3 separate regions of the Homo sapiens genome follow, and all the other regions are linked to region 3. Evidence: promoter capture Hi-C in 16 types of primary human blood cells and fetal thymus (Javierre and others, 2016). All regions are on one chromosome and are shown on one strand. Each heading gives the region's core, a stretch centred on a gene start or on the middle of the fragment in contact. The rest is flanking DNA. Distances are from core to core; before and after follow the strand shown. Region 1 overlaps PRPSAP1 (phosphoribosyl pyrophosphate synthetase associated protein 1). Region 2 overlaps MXRA7 (matrix remodeling associated 7). Region 3 holds the start of CYGB (cytoglobin).

Region 1 (2,882 bases), core at 378-2,877, 200 kb after region 3:
ATGACAATTTTACATAAGTCAACATGGAAAGGCACCTTCCCTGTTGAAAAAGGCACATAGGTATAAATGGGTACTTCTGAAAACCAGAACCCTCTCCTGAAGATGGTGAAGTTTCTTTATGTGTATTTGGTGTTGAGATAAAAGCCGCAAGTCTCTTCCCAGTGGTTCAGTTTAAGAGCATCAAAGCAAAAATATCATCACCTGGCATTTTCTCTGTCTCTTAAGCTGATAGGGATGGAAGAAGAAAGGAAAAATTTGGAAAAAAGACAGGTTGGATGTGTTGTTTTGTGTGGGTGTGCAGCCCATAAAGAAGGTTATTAGGTTTGTCACAATAAACTGGTTCTTTTTGTTGTTTTTTTGAGACGGAGGCTTGCTGTGTTGCCCAGGCTGGAGTGCAGTGGCGTGATCTCGGCTCACTGCAACCTCTGCCTCCCAGGTTCAAGCAATTCTCCTGCCTCAGCCTCCTGAGTAGCTGGGATTATAGGCGTGTGCCACCACAGCCAGCTGATTTTTGTATTTTTAGTAGAGACGGGGTTTCACAGTGTTGACCAGAATGGTCTCAAACTCCTGACCTCAGGTGATCCACCCGCCTTGGCCTCCCAAAGTGCTGAGATTATAGACGTGAGCCACCGTGCCCAGTCAATAAACTAGTTTTTGTAGTGCTTGAGTACTGGATACTTTAGTACCAACTAAAGAACACAGATAATTTAATTTAATTTAATTTTTTTTTTGAGACGAGTTTCTTTCTTGTTGCCCAGGCTGGAGTGCAGTGGTGTGACCTTGGCTCACTGCAACCTCCACTTTCCAGGTTCAAGTGATTCTCCTGCCTGAGCCTCCCGAGTAGCTGGGATTACTGGCATGTACCACCATGCCTGGCTAATTTTGTATTTTTAGTAGAGATGGGGTTTTACCATGTTGGCCAGGCTGGTTTTGAACCCCTGACCTCAGGTGATCCATCCACCTCGGCCTCCCAAAGTCCTGGGATTACAGGCATGAGCCACCATGCCTGGCCTAATTTTTTATTTTATTTTATATTTTATATTTTATTTTATTTATTTTTTGAGACGGAGTCTTGCTGTGTTGCCCAGGTTGGAGTGCAGTGGCACAATCTCGGCTTACTGCAACTTCTGCCTCCTGGGTTCAAGCAATTCTCCTGTCTCAGCTTCCTGAGTAGCTGGGATTACAGGTGCACACCACCACACCCAGCTAATTTTTGTATTTTTAGTAGAGATGGGGTTTCTCCATGTTGCCTAGGCTGGTCTCGAACTCCTGACCTTAGGTGATTCACCTGCCTCAGCCTCCCAGAATGTTAGGATTACAGGCATGAGCCACTGTGCCCGACCTGGTTTTTTAATATTATCTGCGGTTACATAGATGAAGGAATATCTTTTACAGGTTTTTCTGTTGTTGGGAGGAAGGGGGCATTGCCTAAAGTAATAAGGCTAATTTTAGGCAAACAGACCAAAGCTTAGACATTAAAATAAGCTTAGTTGCCTTCAGAGCTGTTGTTCTAAAATCACATAGATACCTTTTTTTGGTGCTGTTTTTGCTTGGAATAGCTTTGGAACTACTGCTTCCAAACTTGCAGCATATTTCTTTTGACTGTTCTAATAATAGCAACCTTTTGGTCGTTGAGGATAGGTTTAATTTTTGGAAATGGCAAAAAGCCATTCAGAACAAAATGATTATTTTGGGTAATTGAACTGTGCGATACTCAGAGATTTTCCAGATATACCAAGCAATGGAACTAAGTAAAATATGAAGCTTATGAAGTATATTTTAAAGGTTAATTTTTATGTTTATGTACAAGTTCTAGTGTGTTGATGTAAAGTAAGCAGACTCATTAAAATAACATTTACAGCTGGGCACGGTGGCTCACACCTGTAATCCCAGCACTTTGGGAGGCCGAGGCAGGTGGATCAGTTGGTCAGGAGTTTGAGACCAGACTAGCCAACATGGTGAAACCCCGTCTCTACTAAAAATACAAAAAATTAACCAGGCATGGTGGCAGGTGCCTGTAATCCCAGATATTCGGAAGGCTGAGGTGGGAGAATCGATTGAACCCGGAAGGCAGAGGTTGCAGTGAGCCAAGATGGTGCTACTGCACTCTCGCCTTCCAGCCTGGGTGACAGAGTGACTCAGTCTCAAAACAACAACAAAAAATTCCCAGCTGCTGCAGATGATTAATTGTTACAGTTGGGAGCAGGGTAAATTCTCCCCCATTACTTCCAGCTGTGGTGTGGTTTCTCTTTTTGCGAGCCTGGCTAGTTTAATGAATGCGTATACCATGCCTGTTTCCTCATCTCAGGTTAGTTTGTTGTTGTTGTTGTTGTTGTTGTTTTCCAATATGGAACACTTCACGAATTTGCGTGTCATCCTTGCACAGGGGCCATGCTAATCTTCTCTGTATCATTCCAATTTTAGTATATGTGCTGCTGAAGAGAGCACACCTCAGGTTAGTTTTTGCCTGTCCAAAATGCTAGAGCAGTAAGGGCTGGACTTAATATAGGATGTGGTTTTCTTAGGGGAAAGAAAAGTAGTTGGTTGTCTGGGCATGATGGCTCAAGCTGTACTCCCAGCACTTTGGGAGGCCAAGGCGGGAGGATTGCCTGAGCCCAGGAGTACAAGACCAGCTGGGCAACATGGTGAGACCTTTCTCTATTTAAAAAAAAGAAAGAAAAGTAGTTGGTAAAACAATTAAGAATGTCCTACTTAGAGATAAAGACTACAAGAGCTAGCCAGGGTGTACTTGCAACATTCTTAGGGAACAGATAAAGCAGAGACTGCCAGCCGATTTCCCTTCGCCCTGCTAGTTCACAAAGTAACTGCCTGGTGTCCAATTTGTCCGGTATCTCTCAGTGAATGGGTAAAGCCAATGTGAC
Region 2 (2,865 bases), core at 66-2,565, 150 kb before region 3:
GACTGTGCTCATTGTTGCTGTTGTTTTTCATTTAATCTTTGTGTCCTTTGCACATAATAGGAGAACTGGCCTCCTGTCTATTCTTGATATTGGGCTTAGTTCCGGGGCCGTGCCCTGAATAGGTCAGTGACTGTTTGCCTGTCATTAAAGAGAGACATCAACCATGAGAAAAACCAACTGTTTTTCTGTCCATGCACACAACACTCCACAGAACCCTTCACTTCTGATACCAAATATGCAGCCAGCCCCACCCCTGCAACCAACACCTTCTCCAGCCACCCAGACACCAAGTGGGTGTCCTCCCGTTCAACTCTGACATTAACTGCCTGGAATCAGTGCAGACCCCACAGGTTAGGGCCCAGTCCCACAGACTGCCCCCTACTTCAGGGGCCAATCACAAGTATCAGGTCCCCTCGTTCCCCACACTTTGGTCCTACTTGCCTACAAATCAAGGGTTCCATGAACCCCTCCTCAAGTTGAGTAATTTGCTACAGCGTCTTACGGAGCTCAGGGAAGCACTTATGTTAACTGGTTTATTAGAAAGGAAGTGATAAAGGCTACAGATGAACAGCCAGATGGAGGTACCTAAGTAGAGTAAGGTCCAGTAGGGTCCTGAATGCAGGAGCTTCCGTCCCCATGGAGTTGGGGTACGCTACCCCCTGCGCACGGGAATGCATTCAGCAGCCTGGAAGCTCTCCAAACCCTATCGGGATGTTGACGGAGGCCTCATCACATAGGCGTCATCGATTCTTAACTCAATCTCCAGCTCCTCTCCAGTCTCTGGAGGAAGCTGGGGGGTGGTGGGGCTGAAAGTTCCAAGCTCCTCATTGCAGCTTGATCTCTCTGGTGATCAGCCCACCCAGGAGTTACCTCATTAGAACAAAAGACACTCCTGTCACCCGGGAAATTCCAACGGACTTAGGAGCTCTGTGCCAGGGACTGGGATCAAAACCAAATGTTAGAACAAAACATGCTGCTAGCACCCCTGTAACTTAGGAAATTCAAGGGACTTAGGAGCTCAGTGTCAGGGCTGGGCATGGTGGCATGCACCTGTGATCCCAGCTATTCCAGAGGCTGAGGCAGGAGGATCGCTTGAGCCCTGGAGGTCAAGACTGCAGTGAGCCGTGATTGCACCACTGCACTCCAGTCTGGGCAACAGAGCAAGATCCTGTCTCAAAAAACAAACAAAATAAAAACTGTGTCAAGAACTGGGGGCCGAAACCAAATATATATATATTTAGGATGTTACATTCTTTCTACTTTTTTTTTTCCAAGTGATCCTTCTGCCTCAGCCTTCTAAGTAGGTGGGATCACAGGTGCGTGCCACCATGCACAGCTAATTTTTAAATTTTCAGTAGAGGCGAGGTGTGCACTATGTTGCCAGGCTGGTCTTGAACTTCTGGGCTCAAGCAGCCCTCCCACCTCAGCCTCCCAAAGTGCTGAGATTGCAGGCATGAGCCACCACACCTGGCCTCTTACTTTTTTTTTCTTTTTTAGAATATATAAGAAAATAAATAAAGAAAAAATGGGGTCTTTGGATCTGACTGTCCAAAGACACCATTAGCATTTAAAAAATATATTTAGTCATTCATGCATATTAATGGAAAGTCCAAATTATACTGAACTCTATAAGACGGAAAGGAAAAGCTGCCCCCCAAGCTCCTTTCCCAAGAGGTAGCCACTGCTGACAGTTTCTCGTGGGCCCTTCCAAAAAACAAACCTTTTCTCTGCATTTTCGAGCACATGCGTGCATTTCCACTTTGCCATTTACAGCAAGATGACTGCGCTGCTCACGTGGGGCTGCTGCTTGCATTTTTCCCTCGATTTATCTTGATGTACTTTTCATGTCAGCACCTATCAACGCCTCCTTTTTTTTTTTTTTTCTTTTTTTAAGATGCAGTCTTGCTGTGTCACTAGGCTGGAGTGCAATGGCGCAATCTTGGCTTACTGCAACCTCCACCTCCCGGGTTCAAGCGATTCTCCTGCCTCAACCTCCTGAGTAGCTGGGATTAAAGGCACCTGCCACAACACTCGGCTAATTTTTTTTTGTATTTTTAGTAGAGACGGGGTTTTGCCATGTTGGCCAGGCTGGTCTCGAATTCCCAACCTCAGCTGATCCACCCACCTAGGCCTCCCAAAATTCTGGGATTACAGGCGTGAGCGACCGCACCCGGTCCCCAGTTCTGTCTTTTCAACTGCACGCGGTCAGAGTCATTATATAAAAATCCTGATGGACATTTCTCCAGTCTGGAGCAGATCCCTAGAAGTGGGTTTGCTGTGTCAAATGGAGCGGCTCCTCTTCCTGCCCCCGGAAGAGGCCTGCCCACTCCGACCTCAGCCATAGAGATACTTTGCTGTGCAAAATTTGGGAAACGTCAGGACACACAGGCACCACTTCGCCATAGATAGCACTAAGTCTGTGTGTACAAAGTGCCCAACAGGGAAGACGCTGTGTTGCCTGCGCAGCTCCCCCCAGGCAGCATTTTGTGTAGTCAAGGAAGTCCCTCAGGCCAGGCACAGTGGCTCACTCCTGTAATCCCAACACTCTGGGAGGCCGAGGCAGGCGGATCACCTGAGGTCAGGGGTTCGAGACCAGCCCGGCCAACATGGTGACATGCCATCTCTACTGAAAACACAAAAAAATTAGCTGGGCTTGGGTGGCGGGCGCCCGTAATCCCAGCTACTCGGGAGGCTGAGGCAGGAGAATCGCTTAAACCCAGGAGGCAGACGTTGCAGTGAGCCGAGATCGCGCCACTGCACGCCAGCCTGGGCAACAAGAGCCAAAACTCTGTCTCAGAAACACACTCAGAAAAAAACAGAAACCAAACAAACAAAAAGTCACTCAGAGGAGCTCAAGGCCCCTCT
Region 3 (2,871 bases), core at 360-2,859:
TGAAAAGAAATAGTTACACGATTTCTCCTATTTTCTTTCCACATCCCAAGGGGACCTGTTGGGCAGCCACTTGGTCACACCAACTTTGAGAAGCTGTTCAGTGTGTGTGTGGAGCATGGAGCCAGCCATGGCCACGCTGAGACATGGGTCTGGGAGTGGTGTGAGAACCTGAACCCACCCGCTCCCCTCCAGCCCCTCCAAGACCCCCAGGAGGCATTAGATTTTCATTCCCTCAACAAGGGGGAGACAGTGTCAGAGGCACTGCCTCAGGGTCCCCCAGGCACCTGAACCCTGAGCTCCCAGGAGGGGCCCAGGCTGCAGCTGAGGCTGGCCAGGGTGAGTTCTCCTCGCCTCCCCCGGACCTTAAAGTCGGATTTTAAGAATAAATACATGAACCATAGTGAAAGCGCAGAGCCAACCCTTAGCAATGCTTGGGCAATGGGACATCAAGTCTTGAGCGAGGACAGGGGTCGCCGGGAGCCTGAGTGACATCTCTTCCCAACACTGCCAGGCCCTGTCTGGCCTCAGGCTGTCCCCAGGACTGAGCAGCCGCTGCAGGGCAGGCACCATGGGATTCTCCCCCCACCTCTGGCCCAATCTCACACTGCCCTGGATAGGGCCCACCAGGAGGAAGGATTTGCCTCCCCCAGGCCCGGAATCGGGCCCTTGGTGGCGGCTGAGATGTCCCCAGCAGCCTGCGCCTTCCTCAAGACTTTTTGTCTGCCAGGTCCTGTCTGCCCTATCCGGTGCCTCTCTGGACTTCCTCCGCCACCAGCTGGGCTAGAATTCAGGGCAGCGGCTGGTTCTTGCCTGTCCGTGTCATTCATAAGCCACGGGGGACTTCTGGCCGCCGCCGCCGCGTTCGTGCACCGAGGGCATGGAGGTGCTGGGCGGAAGGAGAGGGGGCGCAGGCCTCTGGCGCCCGAGGTCGGAGGTGCGCTCAAGTTCCGACAGCCGGGGCGGTGGGCGGGCAGGGGGACGACCCCCGTGCTAACCCCCCAGAGCCTGGGCGTCCAGAGCCGTGGGAGTGGCGCCGCGGCCCCCAGCGGCTGGCTCGGGGGCGCGGGGAGAGGCCCGGGCGAGGGGAGCCCAGCTAGGTCCACGGCGGCCGCCGGAGGGGCTCCTGTTCGCCCCCACGGGCGGGCTGGCGGTCGGCCTCGCCGCGAAAGCTCGGGAGTGTTGGACTTTGAGTCAGTTCCCCGCCGCGGGAAGGGTCCGCACGCGCACACTCGCGACGCCGCAAGCACTGGGACCCGGAACCCAGCGCTCCCGGCCCGCGCCCGCCCCAGCGCACTCCTGTGCGGCCCGCGCCGCCCAGCGCCGCGTGACCGCCCATTCCTCCCGGGACCCCCAGCGCCCCGGCCACACCTACCCGAGCCCCGCCCCGCGGTGCAACTCCGCCGTGGCCTGCGGGTGGGCGGGCGGCAGTCGCGTCGCCCCCACCCCGCGCAGCCTTCACCTTGCCGGCATTGGCTCTTACCCACACGGGGCTGGGGGTTTGGAGCGGATTTGTTTTTTTAAACATTTTCCAGCAGACCACATCCCCGCCCCACCGCTGGCTGTCCCCCGCCCCCCGCACATATACCCTGCACACACGCACGCACACACACACACACACCCGGCGCGCACAGACACACGCTCCCTCCCTCCGCGCTCTACCCCTCGCCCGCCCGCCGCGCACGCAGCCGGCCCCGGCTCCCGGCGCCCCGCGCCCCGCGCCCCGCGCCCCGCCACCGCCGCCGCCGAGCAAAGCCGGGCTGGGCTTGGAGCTGCTCATGGAGAAAGTGCCAGGCGAGATGGAGATCGAGCGCAGGGAGCGGAGCGAGGAGCTGTCCGAGGCGGAGAGGAAGGCGGTGCAGGCTATGTGGGCCCGGCTCTATGCCAACTGCGAGGACGTGGGGGTGGCCATCCTGGTGAGGTAGGTGTCGCCCGGCCCGGCCGGGCCCTGGGCAGGGAGGGCGGCAGCGGCTCCGGGCAGAGGAGGGCTGGGCCCGGGTCCGAGCTCCAGCGCCACCTCCCCAGCCGCGAATGGGGCCGGTCCGAGGTCGGCGGAGCAGGCGGCGTGGGGCGCCTTGGGGTGAACGAAGCCTGGGTTGAGCCTTCCCTGGCTCCGGCGCGGTGTTCACCAGGATCTAGGAACCAGATGCAGGAGAGCACCTCGGTCCCCCTCCTCTCCCCGGCCTCAGAACTCCTTGCTCGGCCAGCCACCCCAGACACCCAGCCAAACTGTCAGACACACACATTTTTCTGGCCTTTCAAAGGTAGTATAGCAGGGGCTCCCCATTTTAGAGATGGGAAAACCGAGGCTCAGCCAAGAAGCGGGACAAAGAGGAGCAGAACCCTGTCTCCAGCTCAGCGGCTTGCGGGATTCAAAGCCTCTTGGAAGAACAGAGAGCAAAGAGCAGAGGTTGAGAAAGAGGAGAGCCCGGGGGGTCCAGTGTTCCCAGCTGCCCCCTTCCCGCTGGAGGGCACGGGCCAGCAGGAGCGCCCAGGGCAGGCACAGGTGAGTGGAGAAGCAAACAGTCCCCTAGGATACAATCCCTGCTGAGTTTGGAGGGTGAGGGGAAGAAGAGAGAAGCTTCAGGAGACAGGGCCTAACCCTAAAACCTCCCACCTAGGGAGGAAATGCAGTGGCTTGGGCTTAGGGGTCATTCAGGCACTACATGCCCCCAAGAGACCCACAAACACAGAGCGCCCCGTTCTTCACACACCTAGGCTTAGAGCACACACACCATCCTTATAGAGGTGATGTGTCCAAGTCTCGAAAGCTAGTCACTGACTCTAGCTACAAATCCATGCTCTCTTTCCACACGTGCTGGTCCCTGGGGGTGCAGGCAGAGGAGCCCCAGACCATGCTCACCCTCAAGCCCC

What was found. The method cuts DNA at HindIII sites, captures the fragments that hold promoters and counts their contacts. A CHiCAGO score of 5 or more calls a contact.
Region 1: a fragment that was not itself captured here is called in contact with the fragment with the promoter of CYGB in region 3 in 1 of 17 cell types (total B cells); the score reaches 5.2 in total B cells.
Region 2: a contact is called between a fragment that was not itself captured here and the fragment with the promoter of CYGB in region 3, in 9 of 17 cell types (naive CD4 T cells, naive CD8 T cells, erythroblasts and 6 more). The highest score is 6.4, in naive CD4 T cells.

The regions. Positions count from the first base shown.
Region 1 is chr17:76,336,882-76,339,763 of GRCh38, reverse strand. All of the region lies in intron 3 of PRPSAP1 (phosphoribosyl pyrophosphate synthetase associated protein 1), which reads left to right. It also overlaps the pseudogene RNU6-24P. Among named protein-coding and RNA genes, the nearest start is that of PRPSAP1, 16 kb to the left of the region's middle. The HindIII fragment of the contact is 279 bases long and covers 1,488-1,766 here.
Region 2 is chr17:76,689,036-76,691,900 of GRCh38, reverse strand. The region is part of intron 1 of MXRA7 (matrix remodeling associated 7); the gene reads left to right. Among named protein-coding and RNA genes, the nearest start is that of MXRA7, 20 kb to the left of the region's middle. The HindIII fragment of the contact is 6,738 bases long and covers 1-2,865 here.
Region 3 is chr17:76,536,447-76,539,317 of GRCh38, reverse strand. It overlaps CYGB (cytoglobin), which reads left to right and starts at 1,609. Exons shown (of 4, transcript NM_134268.5): 1 at 1,609-1,918. The coding sequence starts at 1,776. It also overlaps a transcript of PRCD not described here. The HindIII fragment of the contact is 9,970 bases long and covers 1-2,580 here.